Regions from separate parts of the Homo sapiens genome. Here region 2 is linked to region 1. The links are contacts of gene promoters, found by promoter capture Hi-C in blood cells and fetal thymus (Javierre and others, 2016). All regions are on one chromosome and are shown on one strand. The core of a region is centred on a gene start or on the middle of the fragment in contact, and the rest is flanking DNA. Distances in the headings are between cores, read along the strand shown. Region 1 holds the start of MDGA1 (MAM domain containing glycosylphosphatidylinositol anchor 1). Region 2 overlaps RNF8 (ring finger protein 8).

Region 1 (4,277 bases), core at 1,718-4,217:
GAGGTCAAAGCTCAGTTTGGCCCCTTAGCAGCTGAGTGAGTCACTACATCTTCCTATGTCATTCCATGAGAATAACAGCCCTGTCTTACATAATGGTTATGAAGATTAAATAGTTAATACAGTGCCTGGCATGTGGTGTCAGCTGTTATTCTTATTACTCCACTTCTCTCTAGGAAGACAGGGATCTTACCTAGTTTACATCTGGGGAAACTGAGGCCTAGAGAGGTTAGGACTGGGACGCAGGACTGATGTCTAGGGCTCTTTCCCTTCTCTGAGGTTGCCTCCCATTGTCAGACACTGGGCTGTGTTGAGGCAGCAGGCAGGGCACACTTGGGGGAGGAGACAGCTGAATTTACAGACACACACAAACAGGCTGTCAAGGTATTTACACTGCATACAATTAGCTGCAGAGTATTCACAAGTGGATTAGCTACAGCAAATGTTCAATCCCAGCCTGGCTAACTTGGTCCTCTGTTCCCCCCACCCCGCCATCATGAACCTTCTTTCTCCTCCAGGCTAGTGTGTGAGTTTAGAGAGGGCAAAGTCAAGAGAATGTCAGCTGAGTCAGTGCAGTTCTCTGTCCCCAGTAACTCACCCCAAAGCCAAAGAGGAGCAATTGACTGCTGTTTGGTGTTGGAACAGCTAATTGGAAAATCAGAGCGCAGTTTCGCACGACATGGAGAAGTACACATTCAGCTCAGAATGGGCAAAGCCAGGAAGAGCCACAGTCGCTGTGATCACTCCCTGAGAGCTTCCTGGAAGGGGTAGAGACTTCCAGGAACCCTCTAATAATGGGAAGAGGATGACAATAGAAGAAGCTATCCCTCATCACTCCCTCAATTGGCACCACTTCCTTTTCTGACTGGATGGGGGAGGCGGGAAGAGGCATGGTGGCTGTGTATCTCTGTGGGACAGAAAATGAATTTTTTGCCTTTGAGGTAACAGTCCGGGGCTGGGGAGTGAAAGGATGGCTACCCTGAGGGTATCCCAGGTCTGTGATATCTGGCCATGATGGGCATCATTCGTGAATTCACTGAACATGTCTGCAGCTGGCATCTGCTGGGAGCACCGCACTGAGTCTGGACTTCCTATCAGCCTTGGACCCACGGGGTAGAAAGGAGAGAAAAGACGGAAGAGGGCACAAGGGAGGCGCAAACGAGTGGAGGTGGGCTAGAGAATAGGAATCTTCGGATGTTCTCGGGCTTCCTGAGATGGACAGAAAGGGGGCTGAGAAAGGAAGGTGGAACCCCCCCATGCCACCAGGCACTTCCCGACACCTCCCGCTCCTCTTCCAGCAGTCAGGAGCGCGCGCTCCGGTGGGGCTTAAGCCCTGGAGAGTCAAGGGAGGAGAGACCCAGCAGGAAATGGGCCTGGGGAAGGGACGGTTCATTATTATTATTTTAAAAAAATTTATGTTTCAATTTATATGCAGACTAACCTTTTTGGAGTGTGGAGATCTTTGAGTTTTGACAAATGCATAGAGCCGTGGAACCACCATCAAGATATTGAGCAGTTCCAGGGGGCGAAGGGAGGGGGGGTTCGTAGTCTCCCCGCTTGTTAGCTGCTGCGATTGTCTGCGCTCCCACGGGCCGACCTAAAACAATTCTTGCGCACACGCTGAGATAAATAACGGCGACAGGTGGAGCAGGTGAGATTAGCAGGACCCGGGTTGGGCGCGGGGCGGGATCGGAGGCGCGGGGGAGGCCACCAGCCTCGCTTGCCAGCCTACGCCCCTCCCCGCGGGCGTTTGGGAGGAGCGTTCTCCGCACTCCTGCTCCGCGAGGGCCCCTTCGAGGCGGCTGAGACCCGAGTGCCGGACTCCCGCCGCTGGAGCGGGGCTCGGGTTCGGCAGCCGGAAGGAGGTGTGCCCCCGGGGCGCTTGGGGGCGCCTGAGGTCCCGAGGGGAGGCAAGATGGGAAGAGTGGCTAGCCGAGGAAAATGTGGGGTGACTTAGGGAAGCTCTGGCGGAGGGGTCGTGCGAGCAAACCTGTTGGCAACCTGTGGGCCGCGGCAAGGGCAGGAGCTCTCAGCGCGACCTCTCCGCCAGCTGCTCCGGCCCGGCCCCAGCACCAGACGCCTGGAAAGGGGCGGGGGCCTCTCGAGCCGGGCAGACAGCCTTGCAGACCCACAGCCGCGGCCCGTCTCGCGCGGCTGCAGGACCCCAGGAACCGCAGGCGCCCGGCCTTTCCCTAGGACCCCCGCTTCAGTCCCGCCTCCCCAAAGTGCAAAACATTTACGAAGTGTGCAGTGCCCTGCGGGCATGGGTCTCCGAAGCGAGCGGCCGTGTTTGCCCCGCGGGCTGCTGGCAACGGTGCACCCGGCTCGGCCAGCTAGTCTGGGTGTGCAAGGCTGGAGAACAGCGAGTGTGCGAGCGCGCGGCTGCAGAGCCCCCGCCGAAACCCAGGTCCCTCCGCCACTGTCCTCGGGATAGATGGATCCATTTCTGCTTTCTGACATTTTCCTGCTGGGCGGGGTTGGGGGGGAATGTTAGGGGGCGGAGAGAGGAAGAGAGAGAGAGGGAGAGGAGAAAGGGAAAGAGAGGAGAGGAGAGGAAGGGAGAGAGAGCGAGAGGGAGAGAGAGAGGAGAGAGAGAAGAGAGAGAGAGGAGAGAGAGAGAAAGAGAGAGAGAGAGAGAGAGAGAGAGAGAGAGAGAGAGAGAGAGAGAGAGAAAGAGAAAGAGAAAGAGAAAGAGAAAGGCAGGCAGTCAGCTTCCCCCAGCCCTGTTTTGTTTTCTCTAATTGGTCCTGGGGGAGGCGAGGAAATTGGACAGAGGCTGGGCCAGGCGAGCTGGGCTGCCTTTAATTGGCTCCTTTTTTTAACTGGAGGGGAATCAAACAGGAGAGCGAGCGACAACGGGTGGGAGAGCGAGAGACCGAACGAGGAGACGCGAGGAGGAGGGAGGAGGAAGAGAGGGAGGGAGGCGGGAGGAGCGCGGAATGAAAAGCTCGGAGGGGCGAAAAAGCAGCACAGCAAAGCCCAAGTTGCTGAGCGAGCGGAGCGCTCCCGCGGCCCGGAGCCGAGCGGCCGCCGCGCCCCGGAGCCCGGCCCGGCCCCGCCCGCTCTGGGCCCCCGCAGGCCAAGGCCGCCGGGCGGGGGCGGGGACGACCAACTTGGGGCGCGGCGTAGCCCCGCTCTCCCGAGAGCTCGGAGCCCGGGAGGGCTACGGCCGCGGCCAGACGGCGGGAGAGGAGCGCGGCGAGCGGAGGCGGCGAGCGGCGCCCGCGCCGCAGCCCCGGCCTGGGCGAGAGCGCGAATATTTTTCAAAAGACTCAAACTTTCCTCCTTTCCCCGTTTTCTGGGGCCCTTCTTGCCTGGAATTGCTCTCCAGATTCCCGCGGGGCGCCGGGCTGCTATTCTTCCCCCGGGTTTATCGGCGGCTCGGCTAACTTCACGGACCCGGGGACCCGCGGCGCTCGTCCCTCGGCCGAACCCAGCCCGCGCTGCTCCCCGGATCAGGAGGGCCGGGCCCGGGGCTGCTTCGCCGCCGCGAGTGCTTTCAGCCCGGCCCCCTGGAGTCGGGCCGCTGAGCCCACGGCAGCGGCCGCAGGACTGGAAACAGCAGATTGATTAACTCGAGCGGAGCCCCGGCCTCCCCGACTCCGCTCCGCTGAGGGGCGGCCCCAGTGCGGGGAAACGACAAGTTTGTCAGTCGTCCGTGGCCTGTTGGATCGAAGCGCCGCCTCCGCCGCCGAGAGGTCCCCGGCGCCTAGCATCCCGCGCGGACGGCCCTGGGTACCCGGGGCGGCTCGGCGGCCGGGCTCCTCGGGTCGGGGCGCTGGCTGCTGTGCCGGGCGCGCCGAGGCACCCGGGGCTGGGCCAGCGCCCCCTGCGTCCCCACGCGGGCAGCGGCCCCGCCGGAGGAGAAACACGGGTCGCCGCCACCTCCGCCTCTTCAGTCTCCTGGTCTTCGTCGCCGCTCTCTCTCTCACCTCTCAGGGAAAGGGGGGGACATAGGGGCGTCGCGGGGCCCCGGCGAATGCGCCCCCCGCCGCCTCTCGGGCTGCGCCGCCTCGCGGGGATGAAGCACCGGCCGTGAAGATGGAGGTGACCTGCCTTCTACTTCTGGCGCTGATCCCCTTCCACTGCCGGGGACAAGGAGTCTACGGTAAGAGCCCGCGTCCCGCTCCACCTTGGCTTAACCTCGCGCGGAAACTTTGCAAGAGGCGCAAAGTGCGCGCTGCCGGGGTTTGGTGGAGACCTCGACTCGGACTCTGGAGTGGATGCCCGCGTCCCCGCCCTCTCCAGGGCGCGTGGAGACCGAGCTAGCTGCTTCGGAA
Region 2 (4,083 bases), core at 522-3,021, 310 kb after region 1:
AGGAAAAAAGAAGGGAGATGAATAGGGAAGTGGTGATAGAGAAATTAAAAAGCTTCTAGTAACAATAATGTTACTATCCCACTACAATTTTGTTCTATCCCATTACAATTTTGCAAAGCATACTTTTTCTTTTCTTCTTCTTTTTCGTTTTTTTGAGACGAAGTCTCACTCTGCCCAGGCTGGAGTGCAGTGGCATGATCTCGGCTCACTGCAACCTCAGCCTCCCAGGTTCAAGCAATACTCCTGCCTCAGCCTCCTGAGTAGCTGGGATTACAGGTGTGCACCACCACGCCCGGCTAATTTTTGTATTTTTAGTAGAGATGGGGTTTCACCATGTTGGTCAGGCTGGTCTCAAACTCCTGACCTCATGATCCACGCCCCCTCAGCCTCCCAAAGTGCTGGGATTACAGCCGTGAGCCACAGCACCCGCCCTGCATACATTGTTTAAAGTAAAAAAATCTTAAGAGCCAGGCGCGGTGGCTCACGCCTGTAATCCCAGCACTTTGGGAGGCAGAGGTGGGCGGATCACCTGAGGTCGGGAGTTCAAGACCAGCCTGACCAACATGGAGAAACCCCATCTCTACTAAAAATACAAAATTAGCCGGGCATGATGGCACATGCTTGTAATCCCAGCTACTTGGGAGGGTGAGGCAGAAGAATTGCTTGAACCCGGGAGGCGGAGGTTGTGGTAAGCCGAGATCGCGCCATTGCACTCCAGCCTGGGCAACAAGAGCGAAACGCCATCTCAAAAAAAAAAAATCTTAAGAATACAGTGTTATATACTATCTGAGTACAAGCATGTGGACACTCCCGCCTCATCCTGACCTTGCCAAGATCCATTTTCCCTTAGACAAACACTGTCTTATACAAGGCAGGCAGAAATGCTAACTTCCTGCAAATGACCCTGATTCTCCAGGGACAGGACTGAGTAGGTTACAACTACCTGCTAATAAGTATTCTCTCTGGAAGAGAGAGGATTACTGCTGCCACTCCTTCAAACATCCCTTTAAAAGGCTGTCTTTCAGCAAAGGAGGATGGGCAATATCAGGGAAAGCCTTACAGGTGGGCTGATGGATACTCTTCAGAGCCTGGGCTTTGCCAGTTTCTCCTGCCCTGTGTTAGGTCCACCCTCTACTTAGCCTATAAGAAGCTGGCAAGAGATACAGGCCATGTGGTCTGACCTGGATCCATCTCCCCAGACACCCCCAACCTCTGGAGGGGTCTTTGTGTCACAGATTCACACAATAGTTCACAAATGCCTCTCCCCACCTCAGCACACGTGAAGGCCATGGCACACTCTCACTAGTAGCCACAATTCACTATTACAGCAGCAAGGGGCCAGGCGCAGTGGCTCATGCCTGTAATCCCAGCACTTTGGGGGGCGGAGCGGGGTACATCACCTGAGGTCAGGAGTTGGGAGACCAGCCTGGCCAACACAGTAAAACCCCGTCTCTACTAAAAATGCAAACATGAGCTGGGCGTGGTGGCATGCACCTGTAATCCTAGCTACCCAGGAGGCTGAGGGAGGAGAATCACTTAAACCCGGGAGGGGGAGGTTGCAGTGAGCCAAAATTGCGCCATTAAACTTCAGCCTTTCAGCCTGGGCAACAAAGCAAGACACCATCTCAAAAAAAAAAAAAAAAAAATAGTAGCAAGGGAGCTAAGGAATGTAGTTTGAAAAAGCCCCTTGGTTGAAAATCACTGTTCTAAAGGACCAAGGAGATTTTATTTCTACATTGCTTGTTTTTTTTCTGAGTACAACCCAAAGAAACCGCTAGGAAAAGCAAAACAGAAGAGTTTTAACACTCTTGTCAACCAACTAACATCGAATGAGAACAGAAGAAACGGGAGGGGAGGAGCTGACAGAAGACTGCTCTCTCACCTCACCAGCTCCAGAGGGAGATACTCTATAGGGGATTTCAAAAAAACTTTTCCATTCAGAAAAAATCTCATGTCAATATCCCAGAGAGCCACAGTGACTCATGATACAAGACTTACTGAATGTCTGTTATCTGTCCTAGCTCCAGAGCATCCATCTCCAACTCAGGACCCAGCATCCTAACACTCCCATCCTCTTCCTCTCCTCTGGTCTCACACAAGAGATCAATGGCTAATCAGTCATGAGACTCTACTCCTCCCACTAACATATGAAACTTCAATAACCAGCCCAGGAGGCCTAGAAGTGAGGCTGTTCTTGGTGAAATCAGAATACAGGCATGTCTGCATGGGCAACACCCTGTGGCCACAGGCAGGCAGGTCTCCTCTGAATTTATAAGAGCAATTCCTGCTCCAGGGCCTGCAGTGATGGGACTCTGACAATTACAGGCTTGCCAATCCTAGTTTCCAGATCCTAAATTTGGTCCTTTTTAAAAATTCCCATGCAACAGGGATTAAACCAGCTTTCAATTGGCCTTGGAATATGGAAGGAAGGTTGGTATTTAAACTGAGAATTTTCTCTAAACCCAGTGAAGCTGTTGATAGCTCTGGCATGTCTTTCCCTAAATCAGGTCTCAGAAAACCTGTCTGTCTCTAGAGAAAACTTCAAAGCTGCATTCAGTGTGATAACTACAGAAACCAAGATGGGTGCCAGAAGTGCTCCCAGCCAATGCATGTAACAGGGAAGCTAACTCATTTTACTGTGTAGCCCCCTAGTGTTACCAAAAAAGTGAGAGACACCCTCTTTAGCCTTTGGAGAGAAAAGGGGGATCTGTTATTACTCTGCAGAATTAACTCTGTGTAATAGGAGTCAGACGTAAACTTAGGACACAGGGCCCAGGGCCCTTCTTTCCTTTTTTTTTTTTTTTTGAGACAGAGTCCCGCTCTGTCATCCAGGCTGGAGTGCAGTGGTGCGATCTTGGCTCACTGCAACCTCTGCAGGTTCAAACGATTCTCTTGCCTCAGCCTCCTGAGTAGCTGCGACTACTGGTGTGCGCCACCACGCCCGGCTAATTTTTGTATTTTTAGTAGAGACGGGCTTTCACCATGTTGGCCAGGCTGGTCTCGAACTCCTGACTTCGTGATCTGCCCATCTTGGCCTCCCAAAGTGCTGGGATTACAGGCATGAGCCACCGTGCCCAGCCTTTTCTTTCCCTGATGTTTTGTGAAGCCATTTGCCATGCTTAGATTGCAGGGAAGGAACTTAGGTGGTAGACTGGGCGAAGAAAGCCCATGGGTGTCCCTAGGTCCACCCCCCAACCCCGTCCCCCGACTCAGCTGATCTTGGCCAAATCTGGATTCCCAGATCACTGCTCCTCTCAAAAAGGGAAAGAGGGAAGAAAAAAAAATTCACAAAGCCTCCGTAGATACTTTCTAAGCCTTGACATCATGTGAATATTATGTCTTGTGTGGGCCACACTGGGAACTGGGGCAGGACAGGTCACTGCTTCTCATGCCTCTGTGTTTTGCTTGTGCTACTGCCTCTCCTTAGAAAGCTAACCTCCTAGGGAACCTTTAAGGCTCATTCAAATGTCATTTCCTTGATGAAGCTTTTTCCCATACCTGCACCTCCCCAGGCCAAATCAGGTGTGTCCCTTCCTTTGAAGTTTCATAGCACCCTGATAAGGAACTCATCACACTATCTACTTGCCTTTCTATCTCCTCCGCCAGACTGTTTGTGCCGTAAGGGCTGAGATAATGTCTTATTTAACTTTTTCTCCTGATGCCTAGTGTAGTATTCCTGTAAATGCTTATGGAGTGATGGGAGGTGAAAAGGAAGAACAATGGGATTCTGTCAGATCAAGTAGCTCTTGGAAGTGAAAATCTGTGGGGGCTTAAATTTAGGCACAAAACCCAGTAGCATACAGCTGTTAGTAAAGTGGTAAAACTTCAGTTCCAAAGAACCAGCTTTCAAAGTCTACTCTGCCCTCCCACAGGTCAGAATGTCTTCCTTGGGCATAAGAGGCTCAGACACACGTCCTGCTCAGCCTCTGTGACAAGCCTGCTGCCTCCATTCTGGCTGACCAGCAGAGGGCCAGTTTCAAACCACAGGTGCTTGCAAGTCAGCATCAGATTCCTGGCCCTACTATCCTATTTATAACTCACTGTATACTTAACTCAAGGTTTTTTCAACACCTGGACAGCAAC

The links. Contacts are between HindIII fragments. The CHiCAGO score rates a contact against its expected background, and 5 or more counts as called.
Region 2: a contact is called between a fragment that was not itself captured here and the fragment with the promoter of MDGA1 in region 1, in 6 of 17 cell types (total CD8 T cells, naive CD8 T cells, non-activated CD4 T cells and 3 more). The highest score is 6.7, in total CD8 T cells.

Annotation. Positions count from the first base shown.
Region 1 is chr6:37,696,573-37,700,849 of GRCh38, reverse strand. MDGA1 (MAM domain containing glycosylphosphatidylinositol anchor 1) reads left to right here and starts at 2,967. Exons shown (of 17, transcript NM_153487.4): 1 at 2,967-4,105. The coding sequence starts at 4,039. RefSeq lists silencers at 1,856-1,925, 1,946-2,015, 2,882-3,011, 3,032-3,101, 3,162-3,291 and 3 more and an enhancer at 3,614-4,277. The HindIII fragment of the contact is 24,309 bases long and covers 1-4,277 here.
Region 2 is chr6:37,381,695-37,385,777 of GRCh38, reverse strand. The region is part of intron 7 of RNF8 (ring finger protein 8); the gene reads right to left. Among named protein-coding and RNA genes, the nearest start is that of RNF8, 30 kb to the right of the region's middle. The HindIII fragment of the contact is 3,433 bases long and covers 55-3,487 here.